3 separate regions of the Homo sapiens genome follow, and regions 1 and 3 are each linked to region 2. Evidence: promoter capture Hi-C in human tissues and cell types (Jung and others, 2019). All regions are on one chromosome and are shown on one strand. Each heading gives the region's core, a stretch centred on a gene start or on the middle of the fragment in contact. The rest is flanking DNA. Distances are from core to core; before and after follow the strand shown.

Region 1 (3,339 bases), core at 212-2,711, 400 kb before region 2:
GCCGCATGAGCACGATGCGGGATAGCTCCGTGAAGGACTCGATGACGTTGAAGTTGCACAGGGGGCTGACCTCAAAGAAGGTCATGCAGTTCTTCTCTGCGTACGCGCGGGCCTGCTCCGTCGGGACCTGCCGCTTGAAGGCCAGGTGCAGCCGGTTTCCAACCAAGATCCGGGGGACTCCGGGTGCATGCTGGGGGCACAGAACTCAGCAGACGCACAAACGCAGGGTGCCACCCACCCCTCAGCCGCAGCAGGGCCCGCCCTCATTGTCTGGACTATGATGGGGTGAGGGCCGTGGGAGGTCAAGGTGGGCGGAGGTCAAGGTGGGCAGACCCCAGGGCTCAGGCCCTACAGTGCAGCCCTTCCGGGTGGCCCCGTAGCTCCTGGTCTTGCTGGGCTCCACGCCCGACTGTCGTGTGCACAGTGACCAGCATGCCCAGGCGTAGGCCGTGGGACAGTGCAGGGTGCAGAGCCGGGGCCACAGGAGGGGCGGCAGGCGGGAATCCAGAGCCTACCCGGGGCCCAGGTACCTCCATCCAGCCTGCCTTCCCCGGGAGGGCTCCCCGGACCCAGGCCTACCTCATCGATCTCCTTGATCCAGCGGTCGATGCCGTCAAAGGACCAGCGGTTGGTGATGTCATACACCAAGAGGATCCCCTGCAACAGAGACTTGGGGGTCATCAGGGGTCACTGACACGCATGGCCAGCCCAGGCCCAGGGACGCTCAGGTGCAGGGGCCTCAGTTCCCGGGCAGGGCCAAGGATGCTTATTACTTGGCGGATGGGCAGATGAGCCATGCCCTCCAGGCAGAGCTGGTGCAGCCCTGCCCCTCACCCCTGCCCTCACCTGGCAGGACTGCAGCAGGGGGGTGGGCGCCTTCCATGGTGTCAGAAATGCCGCTTCCCCTCCCTCCCCTGGAGCCATCAGCCTGTGGAAGTTTCCTGGGCAGGCAGATGCGGGGTTCTGGCAGCCGGGGGACGTGCAGCTGTGGAAGCTAAGTGTCCTCTCGGCCAGTCCATCAGTGAATCCCCCCGGGAGTACCTGGGACAGAGCTGAGTGGGGGCATTTCTGAGTTTTCCAACCTAAAACTTGCAGAGCAGAATGCCAGTCCCTCCAGGACAGTTTCTGTGAAGCTCCCCCAGCCAGGCAGAGCAGGTTTTGCCACGGGGACTTTTTGCCACATCCCTTAGAGACCAATTACTTGGAGCTCAGCTCTGGGCTGTTTCCACCTGCCCTAAATATCTCGGCAGTGACAGTCATGGCTCTCCAGCAGCACAGGGGAGCACACTGCTCACACTCAGAGCCCTGTCGGGCGAAACGGTGACATCACAGGCCCATTCCCCTATGCCCGCCTCTCCCCAACGTCCACTCCCACCCTACAATTCTGCAACCAGATCCAGCCAATGAGCTGTGATCCACCCTACTCCTAGGCTGACAAAACCTTCACGTAATGGAAGAGCCTATCACACAAGAGGCTGAGGCTGAAAGAAGAGGGCACTGTCCATCTGAAAATTAGGGTTTTTAGAGCCTCTTAGAACCATCTTTCGATATCTGGAAGACTGAAGTGTAGCCCCAGGTCCTGTTTAGAACAAGGTTGACATTACTAAGCTCCCAGGGCGAAGGCCTTGCTCAGGATGGAGCGACAGCTCAGGAAGGACACCTCTCGCTGAGGGAGACCCTTCGAGGCCAGAGATGGCCAAGTCAGTCTGGTGGGCGATAAATGATAAGATTCAGAATAAACAAATGCACACCCAGGGGTTAACCCTGGAGGTTGGGGCACAGGGACTGGGGCTGGCTCATTTGCTGCTGGGGGAGGTGGAGAGACTGGGGAGTGGGCCACCAAAGCGTACAACACAGCCCACTCTCCCTAGTGGCAACCTCCCGCATGGCAACCTCCCGCATGGCAAGCCCACAACTCAGAAGTAACTGAGGATGTGTGTCACAGTGGCGCTGATAACAACGACAAGCCAGACACAAATTAAATGTCCAGCCTCAGGGGACAGCTGAGTAAGCGGCAGTGAAATGTACCGTGCAGATGCTGAAGACAGCAGCAGTGCATGTAAAAGCGTGCATGCTGGCCAAGGAGAGATGTGCAACCCAGGTGAGGTAAGAACGCAGGTCCCAGCACTGCGGATGGCATTTTCTTTTTTTTTGAAACAGGGTCTCACTCTGTCAGCCAGGCTGGGGTTCATGCAGTGGCACGATCATGGCTCACTGCAGCCTGATATTCTGAGCCTCAGCTTCCTGAGTGGCTGGGAATACAGGTGTGAACCACCACATCTGGCTAAGTTTTTTTAAACATTTTTTAGAGATGGGATCTTGCTATGTTGCCCAGGCTGGTCTTGAACCCCTGGCCTCAAGTGATCCTCCTGCCTCAACTTCCTAAAGTGCTGGGATCAGAGGTGTGAGCCACTGTGCCCAGCCCAGCATGATTTCTTTTTTTTTTTTTTTTGAGACGGAGTCTCACTCTGTCGCCCAGGCTGGAGTGCAGCCGCACGATCTCCGCTTCCGGGTTCACGCCATTCTCCTGCCTCAGTCTCCTGAGTAGCTGGGACTACAGGCGCCCGCCACCATGCCCGGCTAATTTTTTTGTATTTTTTTTTAGTAGAGACAGGGTTTCACCGTGTTAGCCAGGATGGTCTTGATCTCCTGACCTCCCGATCTGCCCACCTCGGCCTCCCAAAGTGCTGGGATGACAGGCGTGAGCCACCGCGCCCGGCCCAGCATGATTTTTAAAAAATAAAAGTATGAACACACAACACATTACACTGAAGAAGTTTATATGGACATAAAACAAATGCTAAAAGGCTGGAGAGGGGTAACTTTTGATGCTGACCTGTTTTCTGTGGCAAACACCCCTATTCGCATGACACTGAAAACTCTAGAAAGAGAGCAGAAGGCCCGCCTCCCGGCTGATGGGCTGCCTCAGGCTCCAAGTGTGCTGTGACGCGGGGGGCCCTGGCCACACCTCCCGGCTGCTGCCCTGAGCGGGCCCCCACTTCCTGGGATGGCCATGTCTGAGGAGTAGGGGTTACGGGCAGGGGCGATGGCACAGGAGGACCCGGAGGCTTGCTCCGGCGTGGGTCACAGTGAGGCCGCAGGGACCCAAATGACCACGGAGTGAGAAACCAAAAGGAGACTCTCGGTGACCAGCAGCCGCCTAACGAACGGCACCCTAAGCACCCTCAGCTGCGTGTCTCAAGGGGCAGAGCACGGGACAAACAGACTCTTCCACTGCCTTCTGTTTTCTAAAACTGATCTGATTTTTAAAAAACTAGCGACTTCGGCCAGGCGCCGTGGCTCACGCCTGCGATCCCAGCACTTTGGGAGGCCGAGGCA
Region 2 (3,421 bases), core at 776-3,275:
ATTAGTCATCAGGTTTCAAAGAATCATAGCCTTCTTTCCATAGGTCCCGCCACGTTTTAAGGAAACGTGCCTTTTCTGTACATTTGAAGGCAAGTTCTTCCACTTGAGCTGATACTGCAGATGTGGCTTCAAGAAGTTTGGTTAATGAAAAGGCTGCGTCTCCGATCTGCAGCCCCACTTCCTCCAGCGGGTCCACCGTTCGGCCGCTGCTCCTGCTCGGAACTGGCCAGCCCAAACTCACTGGGCTGCCAGGGTAAGATGCTGCAGAGGCGTCTGAAGAGGAGGGAGAAGGAGGCGGCGGGGGCGGCGAAGAAACCTGCAACTTCTCAGGGTCGGCCATGGGGAAGGGCTGGCACCGCGGAATCCGACCCGAGCAGCCCAACGGACACCCTATTTATTTATTTTAAATAGAGAGCAGGGGCCTGGCGTTCTGGCTCACAGCTGTAATCCGAGGACTTTGGGAGGCTGAGGTGGGCGGATCACCTGAGGTTAGGAGTTTAAGACCAGCCTGGCCAACATGGCGGAACCCCGTCTCTGCAAAAGTACAAAAAAAAAGTTAGTCGGGAATGATGGCGGGTGCCTGTAATCCCAGCTACTGGGGAGACTGAGACAAGAGAATCGCTTGAACCCAGGAGTCAGAGGATGCAGGAAGCCGAGATCGCGCCACTGCACTCCAGGCTGGGCGACAGAGGGAGACTCCGTCTCAAAAATAAATAAAATACGGCAGGGCGCGGTGGCTCACGCCTGTAATCTCAGCACTTTGGGAGGCCGAGGCAGGCAGATCACAAGGTCAGAAGTTCAAGACCAGCCTGGCCAATACGGTACAACACCGTGTCTACCGAAAATACAAAAATCAGCTGGGCATGGTGGCTGGCTACTTGAGGTCAAGACTTTGAGACCAGCCTGGCCAGCATGGTGAAACCCCGTCTCTACTTAACATTCAAAAATTAGCCGGAGGGGGTGGCGGGCGCCTGAAATTCCAGCTACTGGGGAGACTGAGGCAGGAGAATCGCTTCAACCCGGGAGGCGGAGCTTACAGTGAGCCGAGATCGCGCCACAGCATTCCAGCCTGGGTGACAGAGCAAGACTCCGTCTCAAAAAAAAAATAAACAAATAAAAAATAAAGACCGGGCGTGGTGGCTCATGCCTGTAATCCCAGCACTTTGGGAGGTTGAGGCAGGAGAATCGCTTGAACCCAGGAGGCGGAGGTTGCGGAGAGCCAAGATCGCGCCATTGCACTCTAGCCTGGGCGAAACTCCGTCTCAAAAATAAATAAATAAATAATAGAGGTTTAATATAATAGAAGTATATGCCAGACTATGCACACATAAGTGCATGCTATAATTCTATTATCACATAAAATAACTGCTTACATATGCCTTTTCTTTAGTCCCTGGGACAGTAGACCATGAGCTCACAAAAGGACGACCACGAGGTTGTAATCATAGAACCTAATATTAATGCCATGACTGATGGCCAAACGTGGTGGTTCACACCAGTAATCCCAATACTTTGCCGGGCTGAGGCGGGAGGATAAGGAGCCGGGGAGGTCGAGGCTGCAGTGAGCGGTAATCGCGCCACTGCATTCCAGCCTGGGCGACGGAGCAAGACCCTCGCTCTAAATAAATAAATAAATAAATAAATAAAATTCCATGCTTTATTTAACTTTCACAAAAATCATATGAGGGGCACCTTTAGAACCCTCATTTCACAGATTTAAAAAAACGAGCGTCGGGGAGCTAAATAATATGCTCACGGTTTCATGGCTAGCTTAGAAAAAGCACGGATTCATCTTGTTTTTGATTGACTGTATTTCATTTTATTGTAGTTTACCCTCCGTAGAGACTCGTTTGAGGTCCTGGGGGTCTAGAGTAAAATCAGGGTTGGGATTTTGGTTCCGCCGTTGGACAACTTGCGACCACTCAGAGCCTCAGCCTCCCTAAGCACCCACCCCAGAAACTACATTTCCCAGCAGGGCGTGCGCCGGCGCCGTCGTACTTCCTCCCGGCGTCCCCCGCGGCGGGAAAGAGCCGAGTGGGCTCGAGGCCGACGCGACCATCGTTTGTCGACGCCGCTGCCACCGCCTGCCTGAGAGAAGTCGTCGCGGCCGACCCCGTCGCCTCCGCCGGCTACCATGTCCGCCCAGGCGCAGATGCGGGCCCTGCTGGACCAGCTCATGGGCACGGCTCGGGACGGTGAGTCAGAGCGGCCAACCAGGCGAGGGTCTGGGGTGGGAGTGAGGCGAGGCCGCCGGGCGGCCTGAGGCGGGGGCCGCGATCGTCTGCGCCTGCGCCTGCGCGGGGCATCGCTCCTCCTCCCCCGCGCTCCGACCGCAGGCGCCGGGCCTTTGTCTAAGCCGGTGCGTCTCTGAGGCGGCCGTGGGTCCAGGTCGGGCTCCTCTCTCGGAGTCTGCGCCATGGATGGGGCTTCAGCCTCCTTCCTATGTACCGTCCTGCTACTTCCTCCCCGGCGGGCGCCGCGGCTCCGTGCCCCTCCGCGAACTGTGGAGTCGGCGGAGGGCTGGAATCAGCGTGGGCTCCAGGTCGCTGGCAGCCGGGTGGCAGAACTCTTCCGAGGCTCCTTGGGAAGAAGCTACACCCGAGGGAGCCGGATGGGCCTCGAAAACCTGGCCCGCTCTGGTTCTGTACCATTGCAAGGGGAACCGTAAACTGAGCTTTTCTAACGTGGGTTTCTGCCAAGTACTTTTCCAGCTGCCCCCTTCCCCCCAGCACACAGGAGAGCCTCTGTGTAGCCAGCGCTTGACAGTCGTTAGGTAGGTTGTACTGTGTAGGGAGGAGCTCAAGATCATGATGGTTGTCACAGGAGAAAGCGGTTGCATCTTTGCAAAACTATATACCTGCTGTGGTTTGTGTTTTCTTTTCTGCTGAGTAATGAAGTTGTAAGTTCACACTGGCACATTCTCAGGGCTGTGCAGATTATTTGCACTTTATTTCATAGGTGAATAAGTGCTTTTTAGCTTTCTTTGTATATTGAGTTGCTTTTGAATTGCTTCCCATATTTTTATTTCATACAAACTGAACAATTGTGGCCCCTCTATTTTATTTATAAAGGTTCAGTGTATCTTTGCCTGCCTACATCAATCTGCAAGGGAGTTGCAGAAAGCCTCATGTTCATCGAGCCGTGAGTCACAACCAATTTCTAAGCTGTTATAACAAAAAAGTGTTTGCTTTTTTTCACAAGTAACTTTAAAAGTGTAGTTTAGAAAGAAAACATTTTCAATAAAAAGACACTACATTAATCCTGGATGCTTGCAAATCCTAAAATATATTCCTCCTCTAGCGTTGCACAGCTCTGTGTTGTATACACAGACTAGCTTTAAAATTTGTCACATACCACTTTACCTTTACTTTTATGTATCATTCCCCCGACTTCCTTACTGCAGGTGTGGGCAAGAAAACTT
Region 3 (3,279 bases), core at 241-2,740, 360 kb before region 2:
AACTCATTACAGAGGTATTTTCTTCTAGCACAAAGCGTTGACTCCCTCAGCAGTAAGCAAATACCTCAGGGGAACAGCGTGCCTATAAGGACCTGTCATCTGTGCACGCTCGAGACAGGGTCCCAAGAGCAGCCCAGCAGCACCTGCCACCAGACCTGGGTCCGTGACACCTTCCCCGGGCCCATGACACCTTTCCCCAGATCTATAACACCTTCCCTCGGACCCCAGATGATCCCAGACCCATGACACCTTCCCTTAGGACCATGATGCCTTCCCCCAGATCTATGACACCTTCCCTCAGACCCCAGATGATCCTAGACCCATGACACCTTCCCCTGAGATCCCAGACCATGACACCTTCCCTTAGGCCCATGACACCTTCCCCTGAGATCCCAGACCCATGACACCTTTCCCCAGATCTATGACACCTTCCCTCGGACCCCAGATGATCCCAGACCCATGACAGCTTCCCTTAGGACCATGATGCCTTCCCCCAGATCTATGACACCTTTCCTCGGACCCCAGATGATCCTAGACCCATGACACCTTCCTTTTGGCCCATGACGCCTTCTACCGGGACCATGACATCTTTCCCCGGACCCCAGATCCTGGACCCATGACACCTTCCCTCGGACCTATGACACCTTCTCCCAGACCCCAGATCCTGCACCCATGACACCTTCCCTCCGGCCCACGACACCTTCCCCCGAGCCCATGACACCTTCCCTCGGACCCCAGATGATCCTAGACCCATGACACCTTCCCCAGGCCCATGACACCTTCTCTAGGACCCATGACACCTTCCCCTGGGCTCCAGATCCCGGACCCATGACACCTTCCCCTGAGATCCCGGACCCGTGACACCGTCCCCCAGACCCCGGGTCCATGGCACCGTCCCCGCTGGGCGCGTCCCTCTGGTCCGTCCTCCTGCCCCCCGGCGTCACCTCGGGACTGGAGCACGGGCACCCCGCAGCCACCGAGCTACCGAGTCTGGAAGCCAGGCAAAGGCGTTCCTGGGAACGTTCGGCGGCGCTTGGAAGGGCCGGGCCGAGGGCGAGCTCCGTGCCCAGCTCGCCGGGCTCGGGCCCCGCGTAGCAGCGCGCGCCGCGGGCCGGGCCTTACCGTTACTGTAGGCGTACGGGGACTCTGCCGCGCCGTCCTGCAGGCTCTCCAGGATCTCGCCCTTGCCCACGTCGCTGTCGCCCACCAGCAGGAACTTGAGCAGGTAGTCGTAGCTCTTCACCGGACTGCCCTGCGAGCCCATGGCCGCGCCGCCTGCGCCCCGCGCCGGCCGCCTGCCGAAGCACCGCCGGGTGAGGCCGCGGCGTGAGAGAGCCCGCGCCCCGCACCTGCGCCCGTTGCGTCCGCCCCACGGCGGCCGAGTGGGCGCGCCCGAAGCCCAGCGCCGGCCCCGCCCCGCCCGCGCCCGGGCGCACCTCAGCCTCGCCGCCGCCCCGCCGCTTCCCGCACCACCAGGGCCGCCGCGCCGCCCCACCCCCGGCCGCGCCGCCGCCATTGGCCACCCTTCGCCCGCCCTCCCGAGCCCATTGGCCCACCCGCCCGTCCGTCACGACTTCCCCGCCCTCACGGCGTTCCACACGGCGCCGCCAGACCTCCGGTCGCACCGCCTCTTCACCACCCCGCCCTGCCTTCCCGTAGTCACCAGAGGTCGCCCGCCGCCCTCCTTCCCTCAGCCATTGGCCTGTCTGCACGTCTGTCATGACCGCCCCTCCCCCGCCTTTCCCACACGGCGTTGCGGAGACAGCGGACGCCTGCCTCATCGCCGTCGCCATTGGCCACTCGCCTCCTGCTTTCCCGGAACCATTGGTTCGATTATAAGTTCACCAAGATCATTCCCTTCCCTGCGGCTGCCTCCCAGAGAAATCCCAGAGCCGCCGGCCGCCCCGCCCCCGGCCCACAACGCCGTTGTCCTCGCCCGCCCCGTCGCCGGCGCCATTGGGTCGCTTGCATGTCCATCACGGCTCTGCTAACCCCGCCCCTTTCCTACACGCTCGCCAATCAGGGGCTCGGAAGTCCACGTTGTTTGTATCCGCCCCTTCAACGCGCGGACGGGCGGCAGGATGCAGGCGCGCCCGAGCCGAGGCGATGCGGCTGAGTCCGGGAAACGAAAGCCCCTCGCAGGCTGTGCCGCCTGCTTCCGCAGAACCCTCGGAGGGAGCGGCGGGGTGGCCCCGGGCGCGTCCTCTCTAAGGCGGTGCGGCCAATCGGCGCTCGATGAGGCGGAACTTCCTCTCCGGGGCAGGGGCGGGACTTCCGCCCGGCGGCGGCGGGGCGCACCGTTGGGTCACCAGTGAGTCTGCAAAGTCGCTGAGGTTCTGGGACAGCGCGGCGTCACCGAGCGTGAGCCTTCCGCCCGGGGACGCGGCCGCCACAGCTCGGGACGCGGGGAGCGCGGCCGGCGCGAGCTCAAGACCCGGCCCGACGTGCTCACTGCGGCAGCGGCGCCTCCTGGACGGGGACCCAGGGCCCGGACCGCGCTCTTCCCGGGGGCGCCGCCGAGCCCTCGTCCCTGCCGGGCCCGGCTGCCGCAGGTGCGTGGGCGAGCGAGGCGGCTGCGTCCGCGGGCCCCGGCGTGGGGTCGGGGGTTGAGTGGGCACGTGGTTCTTTCTGGGGTGACGAGAAGGTCCTACCGTCGTGGGGATGGTCCTGCCTCTCTCGGTGAAGTTACTCACTCGGAACGGGTGAGCTTTGTGATACGTGCTCTGCGTTCAGTAGCGCTGTTACAGTCGTAAGTAAAAGCAGTAACGTCAGCGCCGACCCAGCGCAGCCCTCTCCAGACCGGGTGCGGAGCCCGTCACGTCTGCCCCGCCGGCGAGGAGCAGAGCCCGGCAAGAACCCTCCTCCAGAGGGGCCCCGACCAGGGCTGTGCCTCCGGGAGCAGGTGCTGCTTACACAGAGGGACGCCAGGACGGGCAGCCCCACACCTCCAGTGACCTCCCGTCCCCCAGAGCTGAAGACATGGCCTGACTAAGCGGCGACCACATCGACGCACCAGTTTTTTCTTTTTTGAAACAGGGTCTCCCTTTGTCGCCCAGGCTGCAGTGCAGTAGCGCGATCTCGGCTCACTGCAGCCTCTACCTCCCCGGCACAAGCGATCCTCCAGCCTCAGCCTCCCGAGTAGCTGGGACTACAGGCGCCACCATGCCCGGCTACCTTTTGTATTTTTTGTAGAGATGGCGCCTTGCCAAGTTCCCCAGGCATTAACCCGGAAACAACCTGGCGGGTCAGGGAGAGCCTCTTCTGCTCAGAGGTCATTGT

Evidence for each region. The method cuts DNA at HindIII sites, captures the fragments that hold promoters and counts their contacts. A contact is called where the count stands out against the background at its distance.
Region 1: a fragment that was not itself captured here is called in contact with the fragment with the promoter of LUC7L in region 2 in 1 of the 25 tissues and cell types used here (dorsolateral prefrontal cortex).
Region 3: the fragment with the promoter of RAB40C here is called in contact with the fragment with the promoter of LUC7L in region 2 in 1 of the 25 tissues and cell types used here (dorsolateral prefrontal cortex).

Annotation. Positions count from the first base shown.
Region 1 is chr16:622,750-626,088 of GRCh38, reverse strand. It overlaps RAB40C (RAB40C, member RAS oncogene family), which reads right to left. Exons shown (of 6, transcript NM_021168.5): 4 at 580-657; 5 at 1-190. Among named protein-coding and RNA genes, the nearest start is that of WFIKKN1, 6.6 kb to the left of the region's middle. The HindIII fragment of the contact is 6,315 bases long and covers 1-3,339 here.
Region 2 is chr16:228,053-231,473 of GRCh38, reverse strand. LUC7L (LUC7 like) reads left to right here and starts at 2,025. Exons shown (of 10, transcript NM_201412.3): 1 at 2,025-2,195. The coding sequence starts at 2,135. It also overlaps the pseudogene C4orf46P1. RefSeq lists an enhancer at 1,653-2,349 and a silencer at 2,182-2,411. The HindIII fragment of the contact is 19,974 bases long and covers 1-3,421 here.
Region 3 is chr16:588,277-591,555 of GRCh38, reverse strand. It overlaps RAB40C (RAB40C, member RAS oncogene family), which reads right to left and starts at 1,490. Exons shown (of 6, transcript NM_021168.5): 1 at 1,123-1,490. The coding sequence starts at 1,264. RefSeq lists silencers at 1,280-1,599, 1,690-1,809, 1,880-1,929, 1,940-1,999, 2,320-2,629 and enhancers at 1,974-2,847, 2,970-3,169. The HindIII fragment of the contact is 16,228 bases long and covers 1-3,279 here.